Linked DNA regions of Homo sapiens: region 2 is linked to region 1. The links are contacts of gene promoters, found by promoter capture Hi-C in human tissues and cell types (Jung and others, 2019). All regions are on one chromosome and are shown on one strand. Each heading gives the region's core, a stretch centred on a gene start or on the middle of the fragment in contact. The rest is flanking DNA. Distances are from core to core; before and after follow the strand shown. Region 1 holds the start of GABRA5 (gamma-aminobutyric acid type A receptor subunit alpha5). Region 2 has its middle 34 kb from the start of GABRA5.

Region 1 (7,008 bases), core at 2,926-5,425:
TATGCAGGGACATCCAGAGTAATGAATGCTGGAGACTTAGAAGGGAGAAGGATGGGAGGGAGGTGAAAGATTACCTACTGGATGAAAAGTTACCTACTGGGCACAATGTACACTATTTGGGTGATAGATGCACTAGAAGCCTCGACTTCACCACTGTCCAATTCATCTATGTAACCAAAAACAACTTGTGTCCTTAAATCTACTGAATGTTTTTTTAAAAAGAAAGGACATGTCAACAAGAGTTGGCACCTTCATATTCTACATTCACAAACTAAAAACCAAAAAAAAAAGAAATTGATTGTTAAAGTAAAATATAAGTCACTGAATGCAGAAGTCATATGTGTGATAACAGGAGTGAATAGGACAGGAAGAAAAAAAGAAGTATATTATTGTAAGTTGCATGCACTACACTGTACATGAAATGGTATTATGTTAATTAAAGTTAGACTGTAGGCCGGGCATGGTGGCTCGCGCCTGTAATCCCAACACTTTGGGAGGCCGAGGTGGGAGGATCCCTTGAACCCAGGAGTTCAAGACAAGCCTGGGCAACATAGTGAGACTTGGTCTCTACTAAAAATTCAAAAATTAGCTGGGTGTGATGGTGCATGCCCATAGTTCCAACTAGTTGAGAGGTTAAGATGGGAGGATCACTTGAGAACAGGAGTTCGAGGTTGCAGTGAGCTGAGATTTTACCACTACATTCCAATCTGGGCAAGAGAGCAAGACTCTGTCGCAAAAAAAAAAAAAAAAAAAAAGAAAAGAAAAGAGAAAAAAGATAGGTTATGATGAGTTAAAGATGCCTGCTGTAAACCCTAGAGCCATCACAAAATAAAATGAAATATGGCAAAATAGAGATATGATAAATAAAACACTAAAGAAGATAAAATAGATACAATGAAATTAGAAAAAAATTTAGTATCATTTTAAAAGCCCCATATGCCTCTATTTTCCTAGTTACATAAAGGAGGCAAAGTGTGAAAAAGAATAGACCATGTTCTTCTAAGGACCCATGTCAGGTGTCAGTAGAATGGAGGTGATGCAGGAGGGTGGGAACGGATGCCCCATGTTTTTAAAGCTGTGGGGTGTCTTCTCTTTTTATTTTTTTAAATCCAGAAATGTAGATCTGTTCATTCATCCATTCATTGATGTAAAATCTGGTTTCTGAGGTGTTCAGCTTGATGACTGATACATGTATACTTCACCACCACAATCACATGCACTCACATTTCCATCACCTCGCAGAGCTGCCCTCTTTTGTGTGTGTGATGAGAACCCATAAGATCTACCCTCTTAGCAAGTGTGAAGTATATATCGCAGTGTTGTTAGCTGTAGTCACAATGTTGTATAGTAGATCCCCAGAACTTATTCATCTTGCATAACTGAAATTTTGTACCCTTTGACCCACATCTCCCCGTCTCTCCTTCTCCCAGCCCGTGGCAACCACTATATACCCAGTAACCCCCTTTCTGGGGATATAGTCAAAGGAAATAAAATCAGTATCTGAAAGAGAGATCTGAACTGTCATGTTCATTTTGGCATTTTTTACAATAGCCAAATAATGGAACAACCTAAGCATCTGCCAATGGATAAATGAATAAAGAAACTGTGAGATACGTACACACACACACGCACACACACACACACACACACGTATATGTATAACATACATATACGACAGTATATTATTTAGCCCTAACAAAGAAGGAAATCCTGCCATTTTTGACCACATGGATGAACCTGGAGAACATGCTTGGTGAAATAAGCCAAGCACAGAAAGACAAATAGCACATGATCTCACTTATACCATGGCACTGTGTTCATGTCTCAGCCACATTTACCACACCCAACCACGCAAACACAGCCACTGTCTCAGTTCCTGCCCCTGACCGGGGTACAGGGTGGGTGCTCTGTGAACACGTGTTCTACTCATGGCCCAGCTTCCCCACCTTCAGCTATTTTAGGCTCTGACACTGGAAATGAAATTCTTATGAAGCCCGGGCCAAGGCTGAGGTTGTGTGGAACTAGGGTGCCCTCTACTGTCTTCCACAACGATCACGACATTGCTTAATTTCATTCAATGAAGAGAAAATGCTAATGAAACAAATGGGAATTCAACGGATAGCCTATTATTTCTCAGCACAAATACAGAATTCTATAGTAAAACAAAAATCATTGAAATGGTAGTAAGCACTCTTCTAGCAATGTGAGTTTCTGTAAGGTTCTGATGGGCCTTACGATTTCACTGTCCCCTCAGGGCAGTCCATCTAAAGTGAGGCTATGTTATGTTACATAAACACTAGGAGGAGAGAGAGTGGCATACCGTTTCATTACAGGGAAGAGAAAAGAATTTAAGCAACATGCTGAAATACAATGTTAAAGAATGACTCTAACTTAAAATGATTTTTATATATTCAATAATATGTGTTGTGTGGACATAAAGCTGATAGAAAGTGTACCAAAAAAAGTGGAAGTTTTAAACATAATCCATCAAAAGAACATATTTCCTTACAGCTGACATTTCTTTTATTATTAAGAATTAATGTCTATAACCCTCGCTAATACAAAAATCATCCCTTGTTTATATACATTTATTTTTGCAAACTCACACCGAATGACTTTGTGTGACAAGCTGTGAAGTTTAAAATTTACCAATTCTTCCAACTCTTTGATTTGCATTATGCTGTTTAATCCTGAGAGAAGAGCAGCTGTCGCTGGTATTAGGTGTTAGAATTCCAACACCTAATAGGTGAAAATTATATTAGGCTGATCATAAAACCATGTTGTTAACTTTTTAAAATTTAATGTCTCCCAAGGAATTTCACCCTAGTGGTACATCTTTTGGGAAATTAGAAAATGAAGAAATGCATACGTTCAGTGATCCATTTTAGAATTAGAAAATTCAAATTAGCATCTTATTTCATTCATATTTCCTGAAGAACCACTGGAAACAGTTATTTAATAGTGTGGCTAAATGTATATTCAGAGAAACACTTCCTGTATATTTGCACATTTATGTATATTTATGTCCTATTCCTGGAATAGATTTACAAGTTTTGTTTTTCAGAAAATTTCAGAATTTCTGGAATGTGCAGAAGTATTAACAGGTAACTTAGATTTGGAATACACTGTATTAGAGATAACTGGAAAAATGAGAGGCTTCCTACACTGGAAGGTCAAAGATCTTTCCTGGAGGGGAGTTAGGAATTTGCCTTTACTTACCATTATTCTGTTAAAAGAGATTATGAATAATGCAGTTTCACAAAAGGAATGGGACAATGGTGTAAGTAAACCTCCCCATCACGTTTTCAGTGGCTTTCCTTTGAGTCTTGAACGTTTTCCACTGGGTGTTATAGTCGAGAGTCCCCCACCTCCTGAGGAAGCAAGACCTGGCAAACCCAAGACGATGCGCTCTTACTTGTGTTGTTTGAAGGGGCCCTGCTGCCGCGCAGTTGTCATTAATGCCACCCTCACCTCCCAGGAACTGCACCACTAGGACGGACGACACACCGACGTAATGACCATAGTAAGACCCCATGTACGTGGCTAATGAGGCAGTGACCCGACGTGGCTCGGAAGCCCTGCTGGGGAGATCCCGCCCCGTCACCCCAGAGGCGCTCTCCGACCTGCAGCCCCCAGGGCTCCTGGCCCTTTCCCGTTTGCCACTGCGGCTTGTTGTCAAGAAATGGAACTTCAGAAAACCCCCAGATATACACTGCGTTAGGTAAGGATTTCATTCTAATCGAGTCCAATGTGACCCTGGCTTTCCCTCCCGTAGTTATGCATTCCTGTCTATGAGTGAGATGAAAAGAATGTCCACAGGCCAGCTTCTTTCAGAAGCGCCTAAGAGATGCGCATGTAAGGGGTGCCATGGAGCACCCGGGAAGGACCCAGGCCTGGGCAGGGAGGCGTTGGGGCCGGCTCTAGGGAGCAAAGCTGTCGGAGTCCAGGCCTCTATCACCCGACTGCTGACACTGCCCTCCCATCCCTGCTCTACAAGCGGGCGGTGGTGACTACACGAGGCGCCGAAGATGCTGTTGAGGGCCCTGGAGAAACTTCAGCAGAACAGGGCCTCTCCCCTTGCAGGCCGAGCCGGGGGCCCTGCGCCCTCCCCCTCCGCCCAGCTCGGCCAAGGGCGCATTTGCTGAGCGTCTGGCGGCCTCTACCGGAGCACCTCTGCAGAGGGCCGATCCTCCAGCCCAGAGACGACATGTGGCGCTCGGGCGAGGTGAGAGCGGGCGCGAGTGCGCCGGGGGCGCTGGGGGGCTCTGCGGCGGGCGGCGCGCGGCCCGGGGCGCGGCGCGGAGCGGAGCTGCAGGGCGGCGGCGGGAGCGCGGGGCGCAAGAGCCGCTCCGCCGGGAGTGCCGGGGAAGTTCGCGCTGGCAGCATGGGGCGGTGACGCCGCACCGGCCTTCCGCGCCTGCCAGCCGGGCGAGAGCAGGCGGAGGAGAAGGAGGATGCATCCTCACCGACGGCTCGCCTCCCGGGGCCGGCGCGCAGGGTGAGCCCTGGGCGCGCTGGGCCGGGGCAGTGGGGTAAGAGGACGCGAGCGGGGAAGAGGACCGGCCGCCCCGGCTCGGTCCGCACCCTTCTCCTCGGGGCGCCTGAGCGGCAGGCTGCGTGGCCGGGGAGGAGAGGTGCAGAGCAGGCGGGGCGCGCAGCCAGGCCAGAGCGCAAACTTTACCCTGGCGACTGCGGGGCTGAAGCCGGGCGCGGGAGAGAGCGGGGTCCGGGCGGCTCATCCCTGCCGGACGGGGCACCAGGGCGCGGTGACCGGTTGGGGGTGGGGGACACCCGTTGCCACCATCACGGGAGCCGGAGGGGTGAGATCGCCCACCTGGAAAGCCAGCGTCAGCCCCGGGGCTCTGAGGCGCGCGGCGTCCCGGCGCTGCTCGCGGGGTGGACTCGGACCCCGCGGGGGTGTCGCGCGCGTGTCGCGCGGGCTGCTCGAGGCCAGGGGACTTGGAGTCGCTGCTGCACCGCGCGCTCCCAGCCCAGGAGGAAGGCGCTGCCTGGCGGAGCGCTTGGCTCGTACCCGGGGCAGGAGCAGGGGAAGTCTGCGAAAGCCGGGAGCGAGCCGGGGAGGGCCGGGGAGCTGGAGACCCTCGGCGTGCCGCTGCGGACCGCGCGGGTGGCGACCGCGGGTGCCAGGGCGACCCAGGCTGCGGCTCCGCAGTGCAGCCCCCGCGCCCACCTGCCCTGGCGCGCCGGCCCTGGTGAGCCTCTGTGGGGGTCCGGAGGGTCGTGGGAGCGCAGCCTCTCCTGGGGGTCCCTGGCTCGGGGCTGAGGGGCGGCGGGAGGCGCCGCCCGGGTTTCCCGCATGCAGCGCCGCGTGCTCGCCGCCTGGCTCTGGCCCGGGCCCCGCGACGAGCCCCCCGGACGCGCCCAGGCGACCACCGCATGGCACCCTGCCCTTCTTGGCAGGAGTCGCAGAAGGCCTTCGCTTCCGAGGTGGAAGTACCTGTTGTGTCTCCCAATTCCGGAGTTTGCGGGGGATGGGGGTTGGGGGGGCTTCTTGGGAAAATGCTTCTTTTCGAAGCATACTGTTCGGATGCCTGTGAGCACCTATTTGCGTTATGCGCATACTGAGAAATGCGTGTTTTCAGGAAGGTTAGTCGTTGAGCCCAGGGACAATGTCTGCCTGGATCTCAAATACATTAATTAGGGTCCAGCATTGAGTGGAGAGACTTCCACAGATGCAGTGCTTAAGTTATGTAGTCACGGGGACCGAATGCCGGGAAAGTAGCCACACTCTTTTATAGGCAGTTGTCACAGTATTGTGATCCTGCAGAAAACCTGTTTCTTAAATGTGCTTTTCCCCACTTCTTTCCACGTACTTTCTCAGTGCCTTGCAGAGAGAGGAGTAGCTTGCTGGCTTTGAACGCGTGGCGTGGCAGATATTTCAGAAAGGTAAAATTACTACACTTGTGGATTTGACGGATACAAAATACAGTCGCTCAGATAACTACAGCGTTTATTTTAATAATTGGACTAATGGTTTATTTGATAACATGCTAAAAAACAAAACAGAGTATTTGAGTGGAAAACAACGAATTAGGGTGATTCTGCACCCTGAGTAGAAGTAAAAATAAGCCTCTTGTTACTTATTTTTATGCTCCAACTTACTGCCCAGTGAGGGTGATGGAAAATACCTGGTGTGCAGCTGTCCTGGGGAAGGACAGCGGGCTCCTTTCTTTGCAAATTGTTGTGATAGCAGTGTGATTTGATTCCAGGAACTGTGACACAACAGCATTGATGTTCACGTGCTTCCCCGCTTTGTGTGCTTTTCAGCTTCAAGAACAAGCTGGAGAAGGGAAGAGTTATTCCTCCATATTCACCTGCTTCAACTACTATTCTTATTGGGAATGGACAATGGAATGTTCTCTGGTTTTATCATGATCAAAAACCTCCTTCTCTTTTGTATTTCCATGAACTTATCCAGTCACTTTGGGTAAGTTACCATCTGTGCTTTTATTTTATGATGTTAGGGACACTGGTGCCTTTCAGACATGTTACGGGAGCAGCACATCCATTGAGCAAGTCCTCGCCTGCCACCATTGCAGTCCCAAGCCCTTCACTTGTTGTAAATAAATGAAGTCATTGCCCTGACCCACGCTTTCTTCCTGAGCAAGGCTGCTCCTCACGTGGGGTCTCTGAAGTGAGTCAGAGAAAAAAAGGCAGATTATGTTTTCAGAAATGGAAGCTGAAGATGATATCCGAGTCAGCTGTGATTCTTCCTACTCAGGTTAAAACAAGATTCAGGAGTTCACATGCATGAAGGACAGTCACTGCTTGTTAGACAAGGCAGTGCCAACATTTCAGTTGCCCTCCACGGTTCCATTATGCAATCAAAGTTGCCTTGAAAGCCAGGCCTATGCTACTTGGCATTGAAAAGGACTCACAATGGTCCTGGCCTGAGCCAAGGCCCTAGAACTGTGACCATCTGAATGCAGGTGCAGACACCATAAACCACAGGTGCCTGAAGATCTGAAAGACACCCCTGAGGTTCTG
Region 2 (7,008 bases), core at 2,148-4,647, 34 kb before region 1:
CCAGATCCATCCATGTTGCATGAATGAATAAATGTTTCTTTCTTACGACTAAATAGTGCTCCACGTTATGGATGCACTAGAGACTGTTTATCCATTCATTTGCTGAAGGCTGTCTGGGTTGTTTCAGTCTTTGCAAAGCATGAAAAAAGGTGCTACATATTTCATGTTCAGCAGTGGTCCCCAACCACCAGCCATGCACCAGGCCATGGTTACAAACTGGGCCAAACAGCCGATGAGTGTTCCCCAAGCCAGGGAGTGAAGCTTTATCTGTATTTACAGCCGTCCCCTATCACTCACATTACCACCAGCGCTCTGCCTCCTGTAGATCAGTGGGGGCATTAAATTCTTGTGGTGGCATGAACCCTGTTGTCAGCTGCATACACAAGGGATCTACTTTGTATGCTCCTTATGAGACTCTAATGCCTGATGATCTGTCACTGTCTCCCATCGCCCCCAGATAGGACTGTCTAGTTGCAGTGTGTCCGGAATTGGTGAGTTCTTGGTCTCACTGACTTAAAGAATGAAGCCGAGGACTCTTGCAGTGACTGGTACAGCTCTTAAGGTGGCGCGTCTGGAGTTTGTTCCTTCTGATGTCTGGATGTGTTCGGAGTTTGTTCCTTCTGGTGGGTTTCTGGTCTCGCTGGCTCAGGAGTGAAGCTGCACACCTTGGCGGTGAGTGTTACAGCTCTTAAGGCGGTGCTTCTGGAGTTGTTCGTTCCTCCCGGTGGGCTTGTGGTCTCGCTGGCTTCGGGAGTGAAGCTGCAGGCCTTCGCGGTGAATGTTACAGCTCATAAAAGCAGTGTGGACCCAAAGAGTGAGCAGTAGCAAGATTTATTGCAAAGAGCGATAGAACAAAGCTTCCACACTGTGCAAGGAGACCACAGCAGGTTGCCACCGCTGGCTCCCGCAGCCTGCTTTTATTCTCTTATCTGGCCCCACCCACATCCTGCTGATTGGTAGAGCCGACTGGTCTGTTTTGACAGGGCGCTGATTGGTGCGTTTACAATCCCTGAGCTAGACATAAAGGTTCTCCAAGTCCCCACTAGATTAACTAGATACAGAGTGTGGACACAAAGGTTCTCCAAGGCCCCACCAGAGTAGCTAGATACAGAGTGTCGATTGGTGCATTCACAAACCCTGAACTAGACACAGGGTGCTGATTGGTGTGTTTACAAACCCTGAGCTAGACACAGAGTGCCGATTGGCGTATTTACAATCCCTGAGCTAGACACAAAGGTTCTCCAAGGACCCACCAGAGAAGCCAGATACAGAGTGTCAATTGGTGCATTCACAAGCCCTGAACTAGACACAGGGTACTGATTGGTGTGTTTACAAACCTTGAGCTAGATACAGAGTGCCGATTGGTGTATTTACAATCCCTGAGCTAGACATAAAGGTTCTCCACGTCCCCACCAGACTCAGGAGCCCAGCTGGCTTCACCCAGTGGATCCCGCACCAGGGCTGCAGATGGAGCGGCCTGCCAGTCCCGCTCCGTGCACCTGCACTCCCCAGCCCTTGGGTGGTCGATGGGACTGCGCGCCGTGGAGCAGGGGGCGGCGCTCATCCGGGAGGCTCCGGCGGCACAGGAGCCCCTAGACGGGGTGGGAGGCTCGGGCATGGCGGGCTGCAGGTCCCGAGCCCTGCCCCGCGGGAAGGCAGCTAAGGCCCGGTGAGAAATCGAGCGCAGCGCCGGTGGGCTGGCACTGCTGGGGGACCCAGTACACCCTCCGCAGCGGCTGGCCTGGGTGCTAAGCCCCTCATTGCCCGGGGCCGGCAGGGCCGGCTGGCTGCTCCGAGGGTGGGGCCCGCCAAGTCCACGCCCACCCGGAACTCCAGCTGGCCCGCAAGCGCCGCGCGCAGCCCCGGTTCCCGCTTGCCCCTCTCTCTCCACACCTCCCTGCAAGCTGAGGGAGCCGGCTCTGGCCTTGGCCAGCCCGGAAAGGGGCTCCCACAGTGCAGCAGTGGGCTGAAGGGCTCCTCAAGTGCCGCCAAAGTGGGAGCCCAGGCAGAGGAGGCGCCGAGAGCGAGCGACGGCTATGAGGACTGCCAACCCGCTGTCACCTCTCAGCAGGAAAACAAGCTTGGGGCTCCCATTGATTCTACGTTATGGTGAGCTGTATAATTATTCCATTACTACAAGGTAATAATAATATAAATAAAGTGCACAATAACTGTAATGTGCTTGAATCCTCCTGAAACCATCCTCCCCACCGCATCCTGCCCTAATCGGTGGAAAAATTGTCTTCAATGAAACCAGTCCCTGGTGCCAAAAAGGTTGTGTGAATGTAAATTTTCATTCCATTTGTATAAATACTTGGAAGTGGCTTTCCTGGGTTAGGTGGTAAATGTGTGTTTAATTTTAAAAGACTCTGCCAAATGGACTTTCAAAGTTGCATTAGATTAGACTCTAATGCAGCTGCTGATCTGACAGGAGGCGGAGCTCAGGTAGTAATGTGAGCAAAGCGAGGCAGATAAGTACAAAGTTCTCTTGCTGACCGCTCACCTCCTGCTGTGTGGCCCGGTTTGGATGCGAACAGTAATGTGTGAGAGATCCAGTTTCTCTGCATCCTCACCAGGACTTGATGGTTTCAGTTCTTGTTTTTGTTCTGTTTGTTTTGTTTTGTTTTGTTTTTAAGTTTTAGCCAGTCCAGTAGATGCGTAATTGTATCGCATTGTAGGTTACTATGCATTTCTCCAATAACTAGTGATGTTGAACATCTTTTATATGCTTACCTGCCATTCATGTATCCTCTTAGGTAAAATGTCTGTTCAGATCATTTGCCCATTTAAAAAAGTGTGTTGTTTTCTTATTTTTCAGTTTTGAGAGCTTCTTGTATATTCTGGGTAGAATCTGTATCTGATAAATTCGGTTATCAGATATGTGGCTTAAAAATATTTTCTTCCAGCTTGTGGCGTGTCTTTTCGTTTTAACAGTGTATTTCAAAGGGCAAAAATTGCTGAAGGCCAATTTATCATTTTTTCCTTTTATGAATCGTGCTTTTAACATCATATCTACAATTAACTTCTTCCAAAACCAGACTTTCACTGATGTTTATTATTCCTTCTGCTAGAAGTTTTACCACCTTTTATTTTATATTTAGATCCATGATCACTTTTAATTACATCAATTTATGTAAGGTGTTTTTTTAAAATATGAATATTCTATTGTTCCAGCACCGTTTGTAGAAAATTCCATTATTTCTCAATTGAATTGTTTTTGCACTTTTCTCGTAAGTCAGTTGACCTGACTTGTGTTGGTGTATTTCTAGACTGTCTACTCTGTTTCATCGATCTATGTCTCTAAATTTTCATCAATTCCACTCTCTCTTGATTATCGTGATTTTGTTATGAATCTTGAAATCAGGTAGTGCGAATCCTCCAAATTTGTTACTTTTAATGTTTGTATTAGCTATTCTGTTTTCTTTGGCATTCCTTATATTTAAGCATCAGCTTAATATCACTAGAATATCACTAGAAATATCACTAGAAACCTTGCTCAGATTTCAACTGAAATTACATTGCATCTATTGATCAAATTGGGGAAACCTGACATTTTAACATATTGAATCTTCTAAGCCACAAACATGATATATCTCCCTTTATTTAGGTATTCTTTGATTTCTTCCATTACCTCTTTATACGCGTACAGACTTTGCATGTATTTTGTTAAATATATACCTAAGAATTTAAAAATATAAATTATATTTTTAAAATGAAAAAATCCATTTGTCAATAGCTAACCTGTAGACATTATATGGACTTTTGTATATTGACCGTGTTTCATAAGATCTGATTGAACTCACTTTTTCTTGAAGTTTTTCTGTAGATCCTTTTGAATTTTCTAGACAATTATGTCACATGAGTACAGACAGGATTTACCTTTTCATTTACAATATGTAGGTCTATTCTTGACTTACTGCACTGGGTACAGCTTCCAGGAAAATGTCAATTAGCAGTATAAGGAAGGGGCCTCCTAAGGTGGTCTGCTAAGGGTGGAAACATTCATTCTTTCACCATTTAGATTGATGATACCTGTAGATTTTTTTGTAGATGCCCTGGAACGGGTTAAGGAGGTCCCTTTCTAGTAGTTTACTAAGAGTTTTGTATTTGTTTCTTTTATTCATATAAAATTCCCATAACAGAAAATTCATCATTTTAACTATTTTAAAGTTTATGACTCAGTGATTTTTAGTATTTTCACAATGTTGTACAACCACAGCTACTAATTCCAGAATATTTCCACACTCCAGAAGAAACCCGTATTTCCAAATTCCCCTCTCTCCCACTCCCTAGCAACCACTAATCTACTTCCTGTCACTATAGATTTGCGTATTTTGAACATTTCATATAAATGAAATCATAAAGTAGTGTTTGTGTGTGTGTGTGTTTGTCTTCTTTTACTTAGTGCAATGTTTTCGAGATCCATCCTTACTCTACTATGTAGCAGTACTTCATTACTTTTTGTGGCTGAAACAAATTATATGGATGGACTACATTTTGTTTATCCTTTCCTCAGTTGTGGAGCATTTGGGTTGTTTTCACCTTTTGCCTGTTATGAATAATCCTGCTATGAAAAGTCCTATATGTTCATATATGTTTGTATGAACATAAGGTTGCAATTATTTTATGTAAATCCCTAAGAGTGGAGTTGCCGTATCACATGATAAATTCTATTTTTTTTTTTTTTTCCGACACGGAGTCTTGCTCTGTCGCCCAGGCTGGAGTGCAGTGGCGCGATCTCGGCTCACTGCAAGCTCCGCCTCCCAGGTTCAAGCGATTCTCCTGCCTCAGCCTCCCGAGTAGCTAGGATTACAGGCACATGCCACCACGTCCAGCTAATTTTTTGTATTTTTAGTAGAGATGGGGTTTCACCGTGTTAGCCAGGATGGTCTCGATCTCCTGACCTCATGGTCTGCCCTCCTTGGCCTCACAAAGTGTTCGGATTACAGGCGTGAGCCATGGTGCCTGGCCACTTGTCACTTTCTTGATAGTGTCCATTGATACACAAAAGCTTTTGATTTTGATGAAACTCAATTTAGCTTTTTTTTCCTTTGATTACTTGTGCTTTTGGTGTCATATTTAAGAAACTGTTGCCTAATCCAAAGTCACAAATATTTACACCTACATTTCTTTGAAGGAATTTTATAGTTTTATCACCTATATTTATACATGCTATATTTTGAATTAAATGTTGCATATGGTGTGACATGGATATCCATCCTTTTGCATGTGGATATCTGTTTTTCTAGTGCCATTTGTTGAAAAGATTATTCTTTCCTCACAGAATGCTCTTGGCACCCTTGCCAAAAATCAATTGACCAGAGATACATGGATTGATTTCTGGACTCTCAATCTGGTTCCATTGATCTATATGCCTATCTTTATGCCAATATCACACAATTCTGATTATTGTAGCTCTGTAGTAAGTTTTGAAACCAGGACATTTGAGTCCTCAATCTTTGTTCCTCTTCTTCAAGGTTATTTTGACTACTTGAGGTCCCTTGCATTTCCATATGAATTTTAGGATGGATGCATAAATGTCTGCAAAATGAGGCAGTTGGAATTTTTATAGGGATTGCACTGAATCTGTAGTGAATATGGGGAGAAATCCATCTTAATGGTATTAAAATTTCCAATCCATGAACATGGAATATCTTCTCATTTATTTAGGTCCTCTTTAATTTCTTTCAACTATGTTCTGTAGTTTTCAGTATGTTAAGACTTACACTTTCTTGACTTAATATACTGCTAAGTATTTTATCCCATTCAATGCTATTGTGAATGAAATTGTTTTTAAAATATCCTTTTCAGATTGTTCATTGCTAATGTATAGAGATACATGTGATTTTTCATATTGATTTGTATCCTGAAACTTTGCTAAACTAGTTTATTAGTTGTAATAGGTTTTTCAGTATGTATTTGTGGATTCTTTAGAATTTTCTATATATAAGATATGCCATCTGTGAATAGAGACAGTTTTATTTCCTTTTCAATCTAGGTGCTTTTTATTTCTTTTTTCTTGTTTAATTGCCTTGGCTAGAAATTCCAGTACATTGTCAAATAGAAGCAGTGAAAAGGGATACGCTTATCTTCTTCCCGATCTTAGCAGATGTTAGCTGTGGGTTTTTCACACATGCCCTTGATCAAGTTGAGGAAGTTCCCTTCCACTATTAGCTTGTTGAGTGTTTTATTTTTAGTCATGTAAAAGTGTTAAATATTTCCAAACGCTTTTCTGCATCTATTGAAATAATCATATGGTTTATTTTCTATTTATTAATATGGTTTTTTACATCCATTAATTTTTGCTAAGAGTTTTTATCATGAATCGCTTTTGAATTTTGCCTGTTTCTTTCGCACCTATTGAGATAATTATTTGACTTCCTTCTTAGTCTGTTGTACAGTAAACTACATTGATTGATATTTAAATATCGAACTAGGCTTCCATCATTGAGATAAGAACATGATTGTGATGTAAGTTTTTTATATGTTTCTGAATTTGATTTGCTATTATTTTGTCAAGGATTATTTGTATTAGTGGTTTTTTGGGATATTGAACTGTAGTTTTCTTTTGATATAATTATCTGATATTGTTATTAGGGCAATTCTGGCTGAAAATGTGACTGTGAAGTGTTCTCTTTTCTATTTACTGGAGAAAGTATAATAAAGTTAGTATTATTTCTTCCTTAAACGTTTATAGGATCTGTCAATGAAAACATTTGGGCTTGGAATTTTTTTATTGAAGGTTTTGAGCTATCAATTCAACTTATCTAATTGACATAGAACTATTCATTTACATACTTCCCTTTGAGCAAGTTTTGATAGCCTGTATCATTCAAATCATTTTTAGGTTTCATCTAATTTTGTGAATTGATGGGCATAGAGTTGTTGCTATCATTTCTTTGTTATCTTTTTAATGTCTGCAGAGAAGTTGTAATATCCACATGCTTGCTATTGTTGACTATAGTGTTCTATATACACTGATTCAGTCAAGTTGTTGGATAGTATTGT

What was found. The method cuts DNA at HindIII sites, captures the fragments that hold promoters and counts their contacts. A contact is called where the count stands out against the background at its distance.
Region 2: a fragment that was not itself captured here is called in contact with the fragment with the promoter of GABRA5 in region 1 in 2 of the 25 tissues and cell types used here (pancreas and stomach).

Annotation. Positions count from the first base shown.
Region 1 is chr15:26,862,887-26,869,894 of GRCh38, forward strand. GABRA5 (gamma-aminobutyric acid type A receptor subunit alpha5) reads left to right here and starts at 4,176. Exons shown (of 11, transcript NM_000810.4): 1 at 4,176-4,225; 2 at 5,843-5,907; 3 at 6,289-6,448. The coding sequence starts at 6,363. The HindIII fragment of the contact is 20,920 bases long and covers 1-7,008 here.
Region 2 is chr15:26,829,678-26,836,685 of GRCh38, forward strand. No RefSeq gene overlaps it. Among named protein-coding and RNA genes, the nearest start is that of GABRA5, 34 kb to the right of the region's middle. The HindIII fragment of the contact is 5,676 bases long and covers 560-6,235 here.